5 separate regions of the Homo sapiens genome follow, and all the other regions are linked to region 5. The links are contacts of gene promoters, found by promoter capture Hi-C in blood cells and fetal thymus (Javierre and others, 2016). All regions are on one chromosome and are shown on one strand. The core of a region is centred on a gene start or on the middle of the fragment in contact, and the rest is flanking DNA. Distances in the headings are between cores, read along the strand shown.

Evidence for each region. Contacts are between HindIII fragments. The CHiCAGO score rates a contact against its expected background, and 5 or more counts as called.
Region 1: a contact is called between a fragment that was not itself captured here and the fragment with the promoter of ATPSCKMT in region 5, in 5 of 17 cell types (activated CD4 T cells, total CD8 T cells, naive CD4 T cells and 2 more). The highest score is 10.6, in activated CD4 T cells.
Region 2: a fragment that was not itself captured here is called in contact with the fragment with the promoter of ATPSCKMT in region 5 in 5 of 17 cell types (naive CD8 T cells, non-activated CD4 T cells, total B cells and 2 more); the score reaches 8.0 in naive CD8 T cells.
Region 3: a fragment that was not itself captured here is called in contact with the fragment with the promoter of ATPSCKMT in region 5 in 1 of 17 cell types (total B cells); the score reaches 5.4 in total B cells.
Region 4: a contact is called between a fragment that was not itself captured here and the fragment with the promoter of ATPSCKMT in region 5, in 1 of 17 cell types (total B cells). The highest score is 6.6, in total B cells.

Annotation. Positions count from the first base shown.
Region 1 is chr5:6,373,910-6,376,609 of GRCh38, reverse strand. MED10 (mediator complex subunit 10) reads left to right here. Exons shown (of 4, transcript NM_032286.3): 3 at 2,184-2,286. Among named protein-coding and RNA genes, the nearest start is that of MED10, 3.3 kb to the left of the region's middle. The HindIII fragment of the contact is 3,447 bases long and covers 1-2,700 here.
Region 2 is chr5:6,625,586-6,628,285 of GRCh38, reverse strand. It overlaps NSUN2 (NOP2/Sun RNA methyltransferase 2), which reads left to right. Exons shown (of 19, transcript NM_017755.6): 4 at 2,617-2,700. Among named protein-coding and RNA genes, the nearest start is that of NSUN2, 6.1 kb to the left of the region's middle. The HindIII fragment of the contact is 3,519 bases long and covers 1-2,700 here.
Region 3 is chr5:5,416,805-5,419,504 of GRCh38, reverse strand. All of the region lies in intron 2 of LOC101929200 (a long non-coding RNA gene), which reads left to right. Among named protein-coding and RNA genes, the nearest start is that of ICE1, 4.5 kb to the left of the region's middle. RefSeq lists an enhancer at 153-222. The HindIII fragment of the contact is 1,560 bases long and covers 553-2,112 here.
Region 4 is chr5:6,659,089-6,661,788 of GRCh38, reverse strand. The region is part of intron 3 of SRD5A1 (steroid 5 alpha-reductase 1); the gene reads right to left. Among named protein-coding and RNA genes, the nearest start is that of SRD5A1, 27 kb to the right of the region's middle. RefSeq lists an enhancer at 1,161-1,390. The HindIII fragment of the contact is 1,563 bases long and covers 669-2,231 here.
Region 5 is chr5:10,248,606-10,251,305 of GRCh38, reverse strand. ATPSCKMT (ATP synthase c subunit lysine N-methyltransferase) reads left to right here and starts at 1,418. Exons shown (of 5, transcript NM_199133.4): 1 at 1,418-1,448. The coding sequence starts at 1,433. CCT5 (chaperonin containing TCP1 subunit 5) reads right to left here and starts at 1,026. Exons shown (of 11, transcript NM_012073.5): 1 at 861-1,026. The coding sequence starts at 965. RefSeq lists silencers at 1-98, 429-568, 639-708, 1,459-1,518, 1,529-1,648. The HindIII fragment of the contact is 6,282 bases long and covers 1,057-2,700 here.

The DNA of each region.
Region 1 (2,700 bases), core at 187-2,686, 3.9 Mb after region 5:
AGAGTTGTGTGCACCTATGTTAGTAATAGTCCTGAGAACACATACAGGAATGAGCTTTTAGATTTTTAAAATCCAGGTTTTCTTGCATTGATTTGGTCACATCTCTGATTTCACACATGAAGGACCTGATAAGTAACTGCAATAGGTTGTTTACCTAGTAAGTGTCAGAGTTAAGACGAAACCCCCGGACTCATACTTTCTTGACCAGTGCAAAGCAGCCTCTCCCTGATGGTGCTGGCTTGGAACAGCAAGAACATTCTAGTATTTCTTGCAGCAAAACTGCAAATGTAAATCACTAGATTTCGTTAAGCAGTAAAGGGAAAGAGTTATGGCTGTTTTCCATCCCAAAAGGTCAGAGATACAAGTTCTAGCTATAGTGCAGCAGCTGCCTACAAAGACAGGACACAGAGGTGGTTTTCTTGGTCTCTGATCTTCTGTTCACCTGCTGATGACTTTGCCCCATGTTCCTTACCTGTGCTCAGTGGGCACCACTGAGGTCTCTGACTTCAGGTGGGACGAAGGTCTTGCACCTCAGGTAGCTCCAGACTCAGCTTTGGCTTTCTCAGTCCAGGAATACAGAGCATCCTCCTTTGTGCTCTTCTGATTATGAATGCAGGGGATGCATATAGTGACAAGTGGCAAGTAACTACTTGTGTCTTCTGAAGCAGAACAAATGGAGACTGATGTGAACAGACTGCTTAAGGGCCGAGGGAAGTGCTGGGCACGGGGATGGATGAGATTGACCTGGGGTATCAGGAAGAGTATGCCAGTGAGCCCTAATACAGAGCAGATGCTGGGAGTTTATCTGCAAATCGGTGGTTGGTGTCTACCCAATGTAGAAGGAATTTCCAGGTCCCAGTGGCCTTTGCAGCGTGTACATTTTCATACACACCAACTGTGTCTTTAGCTAAGGTGAAAGCAGCTTGGCCCTTGTCTCCAGGACTTTGTGTGTGGGCAGGAGTGGGTTCACCCTTCGGTCTTCAAAGAACCAAGTCTGAGCAGGATGTCCATGCTGTTGAAGAAACGACCGTCAGCTGACATGGTTAACCTTATTCTGTGAGCCTGTCAGGTTTTTCTTGAGAAATGGATAGATTTTGTTTAGAATTAACCATAATTTTGCCACATTACATTATTTCAAAAACACTGAAATGAAATAGAATTTCTAGAACTTGTGATGTTTTTATCTTTTGCTATCTATCAAGGCTACTTTTTATACCATTAGTAGTAACCTAATGATATCTTGTTCTGAAGTGATTATATATTTTTGGCCTCAATTATAAAATTCGAAAGTAGAGTTAGTTTTCAGTTTTTGTTTTTTGTTTTTTAAATAATGAATGATTCAGTTTAGTTGAATGATAAGGATTTCTTTAGGGTACAGAAAAAGGTAGGTGGCCTGCTCTTGGTAAAATATAGGTATTGATCTAGGCAGTATGTTTAATTAAATCTTCAGGATACTGAAGATAATTTCTGGGGGAAGTGTCAGAAATTCTAAGTAACAGTTTTATACTGTTTAGAAATAATTGGCCAGAATGTCTCTGTTATATTTAAGTTACCTAGGTGTATTTAGTAAAGTGGTATATCAAGCCGCCTCTTCTTTTTAAAGCAGTGGAATGGTTTGTAAAAGGATCTTGGGGTCGTCAGGGCTGGGGCTCTTGTGCTTGTAGTTCTCCTTTCCTTTCCCCTGAAGCTCCTCCACAGAGGAGGAGGGGCTTTGCCAAGCAGCAGGGCTGACCTAGAATGGAGGCTGCATCGTGGAAGGATCCGCCTATGTCACCCAGGCCCGAACCCCTGGATCTCATTTAGTTTTTTCTTTTGTCAAGAGTTGCCTTACCATACAAGCTGCTGTAAGGATCAAAAAGGTAATAAATAGCATGAACGAATTTTGAAAAGTGCAAATGCTAAACACATGTAAAGTGGTATGGCTTGTGAAGCGTGCTTGGGTTTATCAGTGATCATTACTTGATTTTATGAGCTGTTCGTATTATCAGAAGTAATGAAATCAGATGATCTGTACTTGTGTAAATGAGGGAATATTAATTCCCCTGGTTCCTACACTGAGTTTTGTCTAAACAAGGCCGTGTGCAGTTATATATACCTAACCTTTATTCCCCCATACCTTTCAGAAAGCTGTGAGAATAGGTGTCAGTCATGAGAATGCTAATTGAAATATATCGTGTTTCCAGATATATAGATCAAGGTCGAAATCCCCAGCTCTACACCAAAGAGTGCCTGGAGAGGGCTCTAGCTAAAAATGAGCAAGTTAAAGGCAAGATCGACACCATGAAGGTAAGACTCTAAGGAGTGTCAGAAATACAGTGGGAAGAGATGCCTTCTCAGTGGAATTTGGTTAAGAGACTCATTTTTTTCCATACTTGCTAGAATATTGACTTTCATAACTTCACATATTGAGATTTCTGAATTGTGTAATAGGCAGTAAGTAAAATTAGATATCAGCTGCGTAATAGCATAAAAAACATACACTAATCTTACTCTTAAGGAAATCCAGAGTAATTTTTGTGATAGTAGTTCTCACTGGCTGTGATCATTTTCATTTTTTTAAGATGCACTTTTATTGCATTGATACTTTCTATTTCTGTAGTAATTCCTACTGTTGAAGGCTTTCCCTGTAGTCATGGTTCTTTGTTTTAGAGGATTCTTGAATATTGATTTTTCTCTTTGTCCAGCTTCTGACCTCCAAAC
Region 2 (2,700 bases), core at 141-2,640, 3.6 Mb after region 5:
ACCTCCACCTCCTGGGCTCAGGTGATCCTCCCACCTCAGCGTCCCAGGTAGCTGGGATTACATGCCCCCATCACCATACCCAGCTATTTTTTCTATTTTTTGTACAGTTGGGGTTTTGCCATGTTGGACAGGCTAGTCTTGAACTCCTGACCTCAAGTGATCCGCCCACCTTGGTCTCCCAAAGTGCTGGTGTTACAGGCATGAGCCACTGCACCTCGCCTGTTACGTGCTTTTTAATGTCTAGATTGAGGATGGTTTGTCATAGATGTTGTATATATTTACAGAGTCCTTACCACTTGAGAATTTTTAATATGCAAAGATGACAGTGGTCCTTTTAACTTATCCTCTAAAAAGCCCAAATAGGATTTTTTCTTAAAAGACACAAGCTAAATTTGAAGTAAGTAACTAAAAATTAAATATACCTCTCATTTTGTTTGATGTTAAAATCTACAAAGATTTAATAAACATTTTTTGGTTCATAAAAAGATGATGCTGTTCCTAAAGCTGTATAAGAAACATAATTTAAAAACATTTCTTGTAGAAACAGGGCCTCGCTTTGTTGCCCAGGCTGTTCTCTGTACCCAGAGGAAATAAACATTTATCTGTTAGTTTCTGTTTGTATTTAAATATTTCAGAGTTCCTAAATGTTTCTTTACATGAGATCAACAGCCTTCACAATTATAAATACTGTAGAATTTTAATCTTGTAATAGTACGTTTACATTTTGACTATCAGAAATTTGACGAAAAAGACATATAAGGCTATATTTGTTCAAAGTATATCTAGACTGCTTATCTATATTTGAAAATGAAAATTCAGCTCTTTACAATAAGTCTAAATGGCATGTGGTGTTCATATTGATGTCTTAGTGATTTGGTAAGGCAATAACTTACATGATCGTACTAGCTTTGAGACAGACAAGTTCAGGAAGACCAGATACTATATGAGCTGGCATTTGGCTGTTTGCAAGTAGAGGTTACAGTGGCACAGCAGATATTTGCCCAATACTATAGCAAATGCCAAATTTGCATGTAACCTACTATTTCGCCTCTAATGAGTCCAAAAGATTATTTAAAACAATTCTTTTTAAAATTGCCTTATGAATATGATTTTCTTTTGGCTTTATATTTTTGAACACATTAAATGTCGAGGAGGGAACTGGGCTATATGAGATAGAATCAAAGCGCTGGGGACCTTTGGAGGGTGGCCGTGGACAGATTCAGCCAGTTTCGTCTTCATTATTTGGTAGAAAATGCTTTTCAGGTATATTTTGTAATATTTTGACTTGAGCAGTGTCGGGCTTTTAAGTCCTGAGTTTGTTTCCATCAAAAAATCAGAGTTTAAAAGCAGTCAAATGTGTTTGTGTTTTCCAGACATTCCAGTTTTATTTTCATGGTTTTCACTCTAGCTACAATTTGACGCATGGAAACATTGTGAGCCTGCATTGTTAAATTGAGTGTATTACTGCATCTCAGGTTTAGTGAGAATTGCTGAAACTACACTAAGATTTATGGCCGTGTGACGTGGTACACTTGGTTTGGCATTGGATTGAGCATGGTGCTGCATGACATCAGTGTGCTCATTTGTACGGTGCAGATGCCTGTATAGGTGCAGGCCAAGTTTCAAAGCACATCCTGGGTGGGGTACAGTGGCTCATGCCTGTAATCCCAACACTTTGGGAGACTGATGCGGCCGGATCACTCGAGGCCAGGAGTTCGAGACCAAGCTGGCCAACACGGCAAAACCACATCTCTACTGAAAATACACGTCTGTAATCCCAGCTACTCAGGTGGCTGACTGAGGCATGAGAATTACTTGAATCCAGGAGGCAGAAGTCACAGTGAGCTGAGATTACACCACTACACTCCAGCCTAGGTGACAGTGAGACTGTCTCAAAAAAAAAAAGGCAGTGTTTTTAGTATCCCCCATTTCTCCCCTAATTAAAAAAAATAAAAAAAATAAAAATAACATTGATGTCATCATTTATAGAAAGTTCAAATATATTCACAGATATGATGGCAGGAAATGCTTTATTCTTAGTTATATATAGGTAACAGCCTAGGAGCTCAAGTTAATGCATTAGTGGTTTCCAAGGTAGGATTTTTTTGGTATGTAAAATATTTTAGTGCATTATTGAACTGGTGTTAGAAATAATGAAAAATATATTTTTTAAAAAACTAATCAGGTATTTGTGGGACACTCTGACACTGCATTATTTTGATTCTGTGTGATCTGCACATTAAGTAAGTCATCTTGTATCTTTTTTTTCTGATGACCTTACCATTGTTACCTTATAATGGTGAAGAGCAGAGGAGTGTCCGCTTTTTCATCTGATCTCGAGCGTTTCATCATTATAATTTTACAGTAATATGCATAATCTTGTAACCCCCATGGCTCTCCTGTTTCTGATTGGGCCACGGTGTAGCTAGAGCCATGTTCCTTAAGCCTACAGCGACATCTCTGAGTGTTGCTGACTGTCCGTAGAGGATTGTGAATAGGAGCAGGGAGAACAACATTCGAAGTCTCATTTGGCATGCGACTGATAGAAGCACAAAGTTGTCAACAGACGACTTTAGTATTTATAATCCATAAATGTTTTGCTTTCTTTTTGGTCAGGTATCCTGAAGAACTTGCCTGGCACACAAATTTAAGTCGAAAAATCTTGAGAAAATCGCCACACTTGGAAAAGTTTCATCAGTT
Region 3 (2,700 bases), core at 83-2,582, 4.8 Mb after region 5:
CGACGGTATTAGGACTTAACCGAACCTTCTTGCTGAGGGGAAAGGCCATCCTCTGGGGCATCCTAGGGTGGAAGGCGTCTTGTGGGAACCACTTTGCTATCCGCCCACACACGTTCCACCAGGCTTAGTCCTAAGCTGTCTTTGCTCCAGTTTTTCTCAACACTCAGGGTTATAGTGGTGGGGTTTCGACTTGTCCTCAGACATCAGCAATTTGCTCACAGCCTCAGCTCTTACCCTCAAAGTGATTTGAAGCCAGAGAGTAAACATGTTGCTTCTTCCTGAAACACTGATGTTACTTAGAAACCGGACAAATAAAATTTAGTTTTGAAACAATTAGTTTGAAATAGAAAGCAAAACTGATATGATTATTAAGCAAAATTTTCTTCAACCTGAGAAAGCTGATTGAGAAAAGTAAAAAAAAAAAAAGCAACATTTGAAAGGACTTTCACAACTCTCACATTGCAGTCGCCCTCTGTAAAGGAGGACAAGCCCACTCTGCCTTGCGGGTTTGTGAACACCTGGCGGCTGTAAGAGTTGGTCACACGAGAAGCTTCTTGTAGCTTCCGGGATCGGAGGAAGAAGGCGGCAGGTGCTCAGAGGTGACAGGTGTTGAGGAGGGGATTCTCTGTAGAGCAGCTGGCAAGGGCATGTCCCACCTAACTCTGAGGAGGGATAGGAAAGGGAGGGACATGTTTCCCCTTCACCTGAGGCCAGTGGGGGGTCTCCTTGGTTTCTAGACCACATCTAGCAGCCATTTCAGTGGATGTATATGTTAATAAATTAAATCAACAGTTGCCTCTCGATGATGCTATATTCCAGAGCTTTGTTTTAATCAGTGCCCCCACGAAGTGAAGCACTCAGAGTCAGATGCTACATGCCCTAGAGTGGTTCCAAGGGAACCGTGGGACAGCTCCAGGAGATGGGTTGGAGGTGACTGAGCCGCATGCTCACCCGCACTGGGATGAGCAGGAGTTCTGCATACTGGATACGGTGGGCATTTCAGTGGGAGCTGCGAGGAAAGCGAGGCTGAGGCAAAGTGAGCAGCCAGAAATAAAACTTTGCTCTTCCATCCCCCATTCAAAGAACTGTAGCTGGATGTCCACAGCTGGAAAGTCCTCACTTTGAACTGTATCCACACAGCACCAGTGGCAGCCACTCACCAAAACTTGTTTCTATTCTGTCTAGTTATTCCCCAGCCTCCCTGCACCTGACATGTGATTAAGTTCTACCAGCCAAACATCAGCAAAAGGGGCCTGGCCCCTAGGGCCTTCCTGTGCTCTTTGTCACTTCCTGCTGACTGGAAGAGGGATGAATCCCAGGACCCTGAGCTGGTGGTTAAGTTACTGTCTCTCGGCCCCACACCTTCCCTTTTATACTCTGCCTTGTGACGTAGGGACTGGGGAGCCACGTGCCACCTCTCCTGCCAGAGTTCTGTTCAGCTGTGCCAACAGATATACACAAGGAAACCAGAAGATAAGAGGTAGGAGAGGGGCCTGTGCCTCCCATTCTGTCCTGTCCGACTCCTGGTCCTGCTAGCGTCTTGCTATCCTTGCTTTCGCACCTGGCAGTGGCAGTTCATGAACAGAGCGGCATACGAATTGGGTCTGCAGTTTCTCTGACACACGCAGAGCCAGCCTCATAGCATCCCCTCGGAGATACCAGCAAAGTTGGTTTCCCAGCTCCACAGAGCCCTGAGTCCAAGAGCAGAGGCCTCAGCACCAGCCCAGAAGGTCCCTTCTTCATATGTCTGAGTGTGATTTCTGGGTGGCAGCTCCTCCACATTTCTGAGTTTTGCTCACTCCTTCCTCCTTCTTTTATTCTCTCCAGCCCAAGGTGTCAGCTGCTTCTTGCGGTGGCTCCTCCTGTGATATTTTAGTGTTTTGCTTTTACCTTTTCTCTCTTAAAATAATCTGGGTGTAATGTGGGTCTCCTGGCTGAGCTCTGCCCCAGTCCTGTGCGGAAGATGCTCTTCCGTCCCAAGGAGCTCGCTGCAGGAGAGAAGCCCACCCCACCAGCCTGTTCTTTGTTCTTGGACTATGACTCAAGCACTTTGGGAAGCCAGGTTACAAAGACTGCATCTTTTTCTCCTGATCCCTTCTCCTACCCCAAGCTTGGAGGGGTCACAAACAAGCTGGTGAATAAGGAAAATGTTGGAACAGAGGAAAAGCCTGTCTTGCCCCATTCCCACCCACCCACACCCATCTTGCTAGCGTCTAAGAACGGCCACCAGCTCCATGGGTAAGAAGCTAAGTTGAAGACAGGAAATAAGTGACAGCACATCACACTGGACTGTGTTGTCTCCGAGTGACTGGAAAGGCTAGGGTGTGTGCCCAAGACTGCATCTGGGGTAAGAAGGAGCCCAGAGGACAAATCCCACAGACAGCAATGATTTAAAAACCAAGACATGGAGGAAGTGACTTTATGATCATCTTCTGCTCAGTACTGCCCTTGCTGAGGCATGTGCAGCCCCTTCTCCTCCTCCTCCTCCTCCCCCTCCTTCCCCCTCCCTCCCCGTCCTCCTTCCCCTCTCCCTCCTCCTCACCCTCCTCCTCCTCTTCCTCTTCATCCTCCTCCTCCTTCTGACTCACCTCCCAATGAATTCCTCAGTTGTTGTGTGTGCCCAGCTCTCATCCTTCACAGTGCACAGCTCCAATCAGCCCCTCTGCAATATTGGGCTTGGCGTGCAAGTGGCACCCCCTT
Region 4 (2,700 bases), core at 201-2,700, 3.6 Mb after region 5:
GGCTGAGGCAGGTGGATCATGTGAGGTCAGGAGTTGGAGACCAGCCTGGCCAACATGGTGAAACCTTGTCTATACTGAAAATACAAAAATCAGCCAGGTGTGATGGCACACACCTGTAGTCCCAGCTACTCGGGAGGCTGACGCATGAGAATCGCTTGAACCCAGGAGGCAGAGGTTGCAATGAGCCGAGATCGTGCCATTGCACTCCAGCCTGGGTGACAGACCTAGACTCTGTCTCAAAAAAAAAAAAAAAAAAAAGACAAACCTATTACGCCCTAAGTCATAAGACCAATTTCAGCAAATACTGCAGCATAGGGTAGAGACTACATCTCTGAGCACACTGCAACTTACATGCATGCATGAGGGCTTTTGGCTACCTTTTTTTTTTTTTTTTGGAGTTTTGTATTTTTAGTAGGGATGGGGTTTCACTATGCTGGCTAGGCTGGTGTGGAATTCCTGACCTCAGGTGACCCACCTCTCTTGGCCTCCCAAAGTGCTGGGATTACAGGTGTGAGCCATGACACCCAGCCTGAGATGGTCTATTTTTTTAAAAAGAAAGAAAATGGTTTTGCTGAGCCCGAGACAGCACAGTGCTTTTCTTTTTCTTAAGGAAGGTGGGGTATGTAGACGTTTGCAATAATGAACTCTCTACTACTTTTCTGTAAGCTTGAAATAATTCAGAATTGTAAAATAATACTGATATGGTTTGATTCTGTGTCCCCACCCAATCTCATCTTGAAGTGTGATCCCCACAGGACAAGGAAGGGACCCAGTGGGAGGTGACTGGATCATGCAGGCGGTTTCTTGTGATAGTGAATTCTCATGACATGTAATGGTTTGAAAGAGTGAGGCAGATCCCCCTTCACTCGCTCTCTCTCCTGCCACCATGTGAAGGTCTTTACTTCCCCTTTGCCTTCTGCCATGATTGTAAGTTTCCTGAGTCCTCCCCAGCCATGCGGAACTGTGAGTCAATTAAACATTTTCTCTTCATAAATTACCCAGTCTCAGGTAGTTCTTTATAGCAGAGTGAAAACAGACTAATACAAATATCAATATTCATTGACAAGTGAACTTTTTAATGACAATATAAAACATAAAAATATCAAACTTAATGCCCAATAAATAGAATGTCATTCGCCATGTGTGGGCATGTGCACCTGCAGAAGCACCTGCAAGAATGGACCCAAAGCATTCACAGCGCTGTTCCTTCTGGGCCATGGAGCTTAGTCACTTTCACTTTCTTATTCACCCATTTCTGTAACTGCTTCAACTTTCTACAAGATTACGTTAATCATGATCTGTATTTCATCAGAGCCCTGGGCAGGTGAATCCCAGACGTGGAAGGACCTTTGTACCATACCCTGCAGATGCCAGTCACCCAAAGGGCAGACAGCCTGTGGGCAGGGCTGGGGCCACGATGCCTTCCTGCATGCCGCCTGCTCAGTGAACCTTCTCTCTTAAGTGTCTGGTGTGGGACACACGGTGTGGTGGAACCGTATGGGTGGACTGGTAAGCATGGAATTAGACTGGAAAACCTGCAGATGCCAATCTGCTAAAAAATGTCCTCTTGAGACACAGGCTGCTTACAGATGCCACATTACAAAACCACAAACTGGTTGTCACACACAGCCCACAGCACTTGTCCTAAGCCCTAGTTCAGCCTGTATGTACTGACTATGGACGTCACACCTGTGCACCTCTCTTTATCTCTTTATTTGTTCATTTTGTCACTTGCTCCTTTGACCCTAACCAGTTATGGCACCATGATTAACAGAGTCCTGCGAAGCGTTTCTGAAAGACCTCACGGAGTCACTGGATGTAGACGGCACACCTGTGTATTAGAAACCATCAATGTGTCACATGAAAACGCCCTGCAAAATTAAGAGTCTGCAGCGAAGGGAGCTGGTCACAAAGCCGACCATGGTGGAGTCTTCATGGGGCACAGCACTCAGACTCCCTACACCTGAGTCTTCAAAACCTGACAGATTTTACATGAGGGACTCCAAAGCTAGGATAATATTTTGGCTTCCACGTTCCTTGGGCCTCTCGTGTTGCTGCCTCTAAGACCCTGGCACGGAACGCTGCCCTGAAGAATCTAACGAACTTTCCCTTACAAGCCACTCATGGCACGTGCAGATGATCGTCACTGTTTCCTGTCCACTTCCTCCGGTATAGGGTGCGTACCTGCAAACGGCAGACGCTCTTGTGTCTTGTTTTACTTCACAAAAGCTTTCTTGAATTAGTTTTTAAAATATATTCTGTTCCAATGCTTTGGATTTCTTCTTCATGGACTTCAATGTGCCTAGGATGGATATATTTTCCCTACCTTCTCCAGCTATCACCAAAACATCATTCACAATAAGAATGATCTTTTTTGGCCGGGCACGGTGGCTCACGCCTGTAATCCCAGCACTTTGGGAGGCCAAGGTGGGCGGATCACGAGGTCAGGAGATCGAGACCATCCTGGCTAACACGGTGAAACCCCATCTCTAGTAAAAATACAAAAAATTAGCCAGGCGTGGTGGCGGGCGCCTGTAGTCCCAGCTACTCGGGGGGCTGAGGCAAGAGAATGGCGTGAACCCGAGAGGCAGAGCTTGCAGTGAGCCGAGATCGCGCCACTGCACTCCAGCCTGGGTGACAGAGCGAGACCCCGTCTCAAAAAAAAAAAAAAGATTTTTTTTTTTGAGACAGGGTCTCCCT
Region 5 (2,700 bases), core at 169-2,668:
TCTACTGAAATTCTGCTCAAAACCCCCTCAATGGCTCCCCTTCTTCCCCAAAGATAACGTCGTATTTTCCATGTTGGGCATTCAATAGCTTCCACCTTCGGGAACTATTGTAAGTTAAAGAAGTCAGTGCTCCATTAAAACCGGATGGCTCTTCCATTCTACAACGTGCCATGCGCATTCTTGCCCAAGCCTTTACTTCTACCGTTTCCTCTCCCTAGAATGCTACCTCTCACCCCGATCTAAAGCTGTCCTCCAGCACCACGCTTATGTGCACCCTCTCCGTAGCTGTCCTTCTCACTGCACACCACCTTGTATTACGGTTATGTGCGTCCGTTTTTCACTCTTCGCTATTTTTCCTCAAGGGTGGGCAAAAAAGCACTCAGAAATGAAATACCCTGTTAAGTGACCACACCTTTACGAGTGACAAAGAAAACGGAAGGGCCGTTGCGGGTGGACCAGCGAAAGGTTAAGCAGCAGCGCCTTAACCGACAGGTGACAGAGCATCTCCCCGGCGCCCTCCCACTGGAGCGCAGTCCCACGCGGCCGTCAGGCTGGAGGAGCCGGGCGGGGAGGCGGTCCCGCTTTGCTCCCGCGGGCGACCGGACTGAGCGGCCCCACCCAGCTCCGAAGGGCGCTGGCGGCCCAGCCTGGCTGGCCCCCACATTCCGAGCCCAGGATTAGGCGCCGGCGTCTCCCGAGCTCAGTAAGCGGGCTGAGCGGCCGGAGACCGCAGGGAGACGGAGATTCTCGACCTTTCCGGGGAGCACATGGCAGAGCCGCTCCTCAACTCGCGCAGGCGCAGAGCCACGGCCTCGGCCACCTCCCCTTAGCCCACCGCGAGCAGGTCCCTGTGCCATTACCTTGAGGGCCTCAAGTCCCATAAGACGGGACTTGCGGTCCTGATCCTTGATGATGAGGAAAGGGCGCCCATATTCATCGAAGGCGAGGGTCCCCATGGACGCCATGGTGCAACAACCGGAATTACTTCCCCCCAACCGGCGGAGACCGCTACGGAAGCGAGAATGCACTTCCCTTTCTCGGGAGGGCCCAAAAGCTTGCGCACGCGCAGCACAAGACGCGCGGGACTTATGTTTCTACTGAGACTAATTTCACGCCAGACAGTATCTTCTGGAATCGGCGGCCTTCGGGAACTTCTATTATCCAGGAAGCCGGGGAGGGGGAGGTTTGAAGACACTTAGTGGAAATCTTAGGACACACAAGTCAAGAGCAGATTGAATTTGTCATTTTTTAAAACGTTACCACTGATAGTTTCTCGATAGTGGGTCCCAAGGAGGAATTCATTGACTTAAAGCACTATTTCTTTATTTCTTCGCACTCCGGCTCCGAGAAGATGGTAGGACCCATTTCCGGTTTTTTTTTTTTTTTTTTTTTTTTTTTTTTTTTTTTTAAAAACGCTGTTGGAAATCTCGCGATGGAGGGAGGAGGAGGTGAGGCTGGAGCGGCTTGGCGGGTTCCTGGGGGCATGAGAAGGGGTGCGGGCGGGCCGGGGGCTCGCGGTCAGCTGAGGTCTCCACTGTCGAGGCGGTGACCGGGTGCGGGCGGCTGCTCTGGCCTCCAGCCTGGCCTTCGGTGACCAGAGCTCCTGGTCGCCGCGCGGTGCCCGCGCCGGTTCTGGCGATCCTTGTCGGCGGGCGCGTTTCCCCAGAGACTGTTCTAGGCTACTTAGTGCAAGTGACTCAGCCTTTGGCACGATCTTAAGGAATAGGGATAGTGGAGGCACACTGATGGATTGGAATCGCAGTTCTGCCGCTCTTCCTAGCTGTGGCTTTGAGGAAATCCCTTAACTTCTTTGTCCCTCGGGTTCCCTGTCTGCAAAGTGACGGTGGTAACAGTAGTGCCTACTCACAGGGCTGCTGTGAGATTCAAGGAGAACGGTGCCTGGCAAGCTGAACACAGTGTTGGTAAATAAATTAACATTTTGCACAAATGGTTCAGTAACTTGCCACTGGTATACAGCTAGTAAGAAACAGTTACACAGCCTGATGCAATGGGTCCCACACTCTTTTTTTTTTTTTTTTTTTTTGAGACAAGACTGTAGCCCGGGCTGGAGTGCAGTGGCGCGGTCTCGGCTCACTGCAGCCTCCGCCTCCCGGGTTCCAGTGATTCTCGTGCCTCAGCCTCCCAGGCAGCTGGGACTACAGGCACAGAACCACCACGCTCGCTAATTTTTGTATTTTTAGTAGAGACGGTGTTAACGCCGTAGTGGCCAGGCTGGTCTCGAACGGCTGACCTCAAGTGATGTACCCGTCTAGGTCTCCCCAAGTGTTGGGCCTGAGCCACCGCGGTGCCCGGCAGGTCTCACTCTTAAGCCCTGTATTATGCTGCCTCAGAAAGATCTTGGCAACCGCAGCTGTCCTCTAAATCTCTTATGCTGCCTTCCTCCCCGCCCTCCAAGATCATGACTTAATATTTGATAGGTTTAGATTTATTTGTTGAGGGTTTCCATCCTTGCTTCTCCCCTACTGCCATGGGCAGGGACTTAACTAATAAAGTTGTATTATTCCCAGACTTTATTAGGCACTCAATAAGTGCTGAAATGAATACATGCACTATAACATTTGACCCTGTCCTGAAACTCAAGAACAGACTTGGCGACTGTGTTCCCATCTACTCTGGGGCTGAGGCAGGAGGATGGGTGGAGCCCAGGAGTTCAGTTTACAGTGCGCTATAATCGCGCCA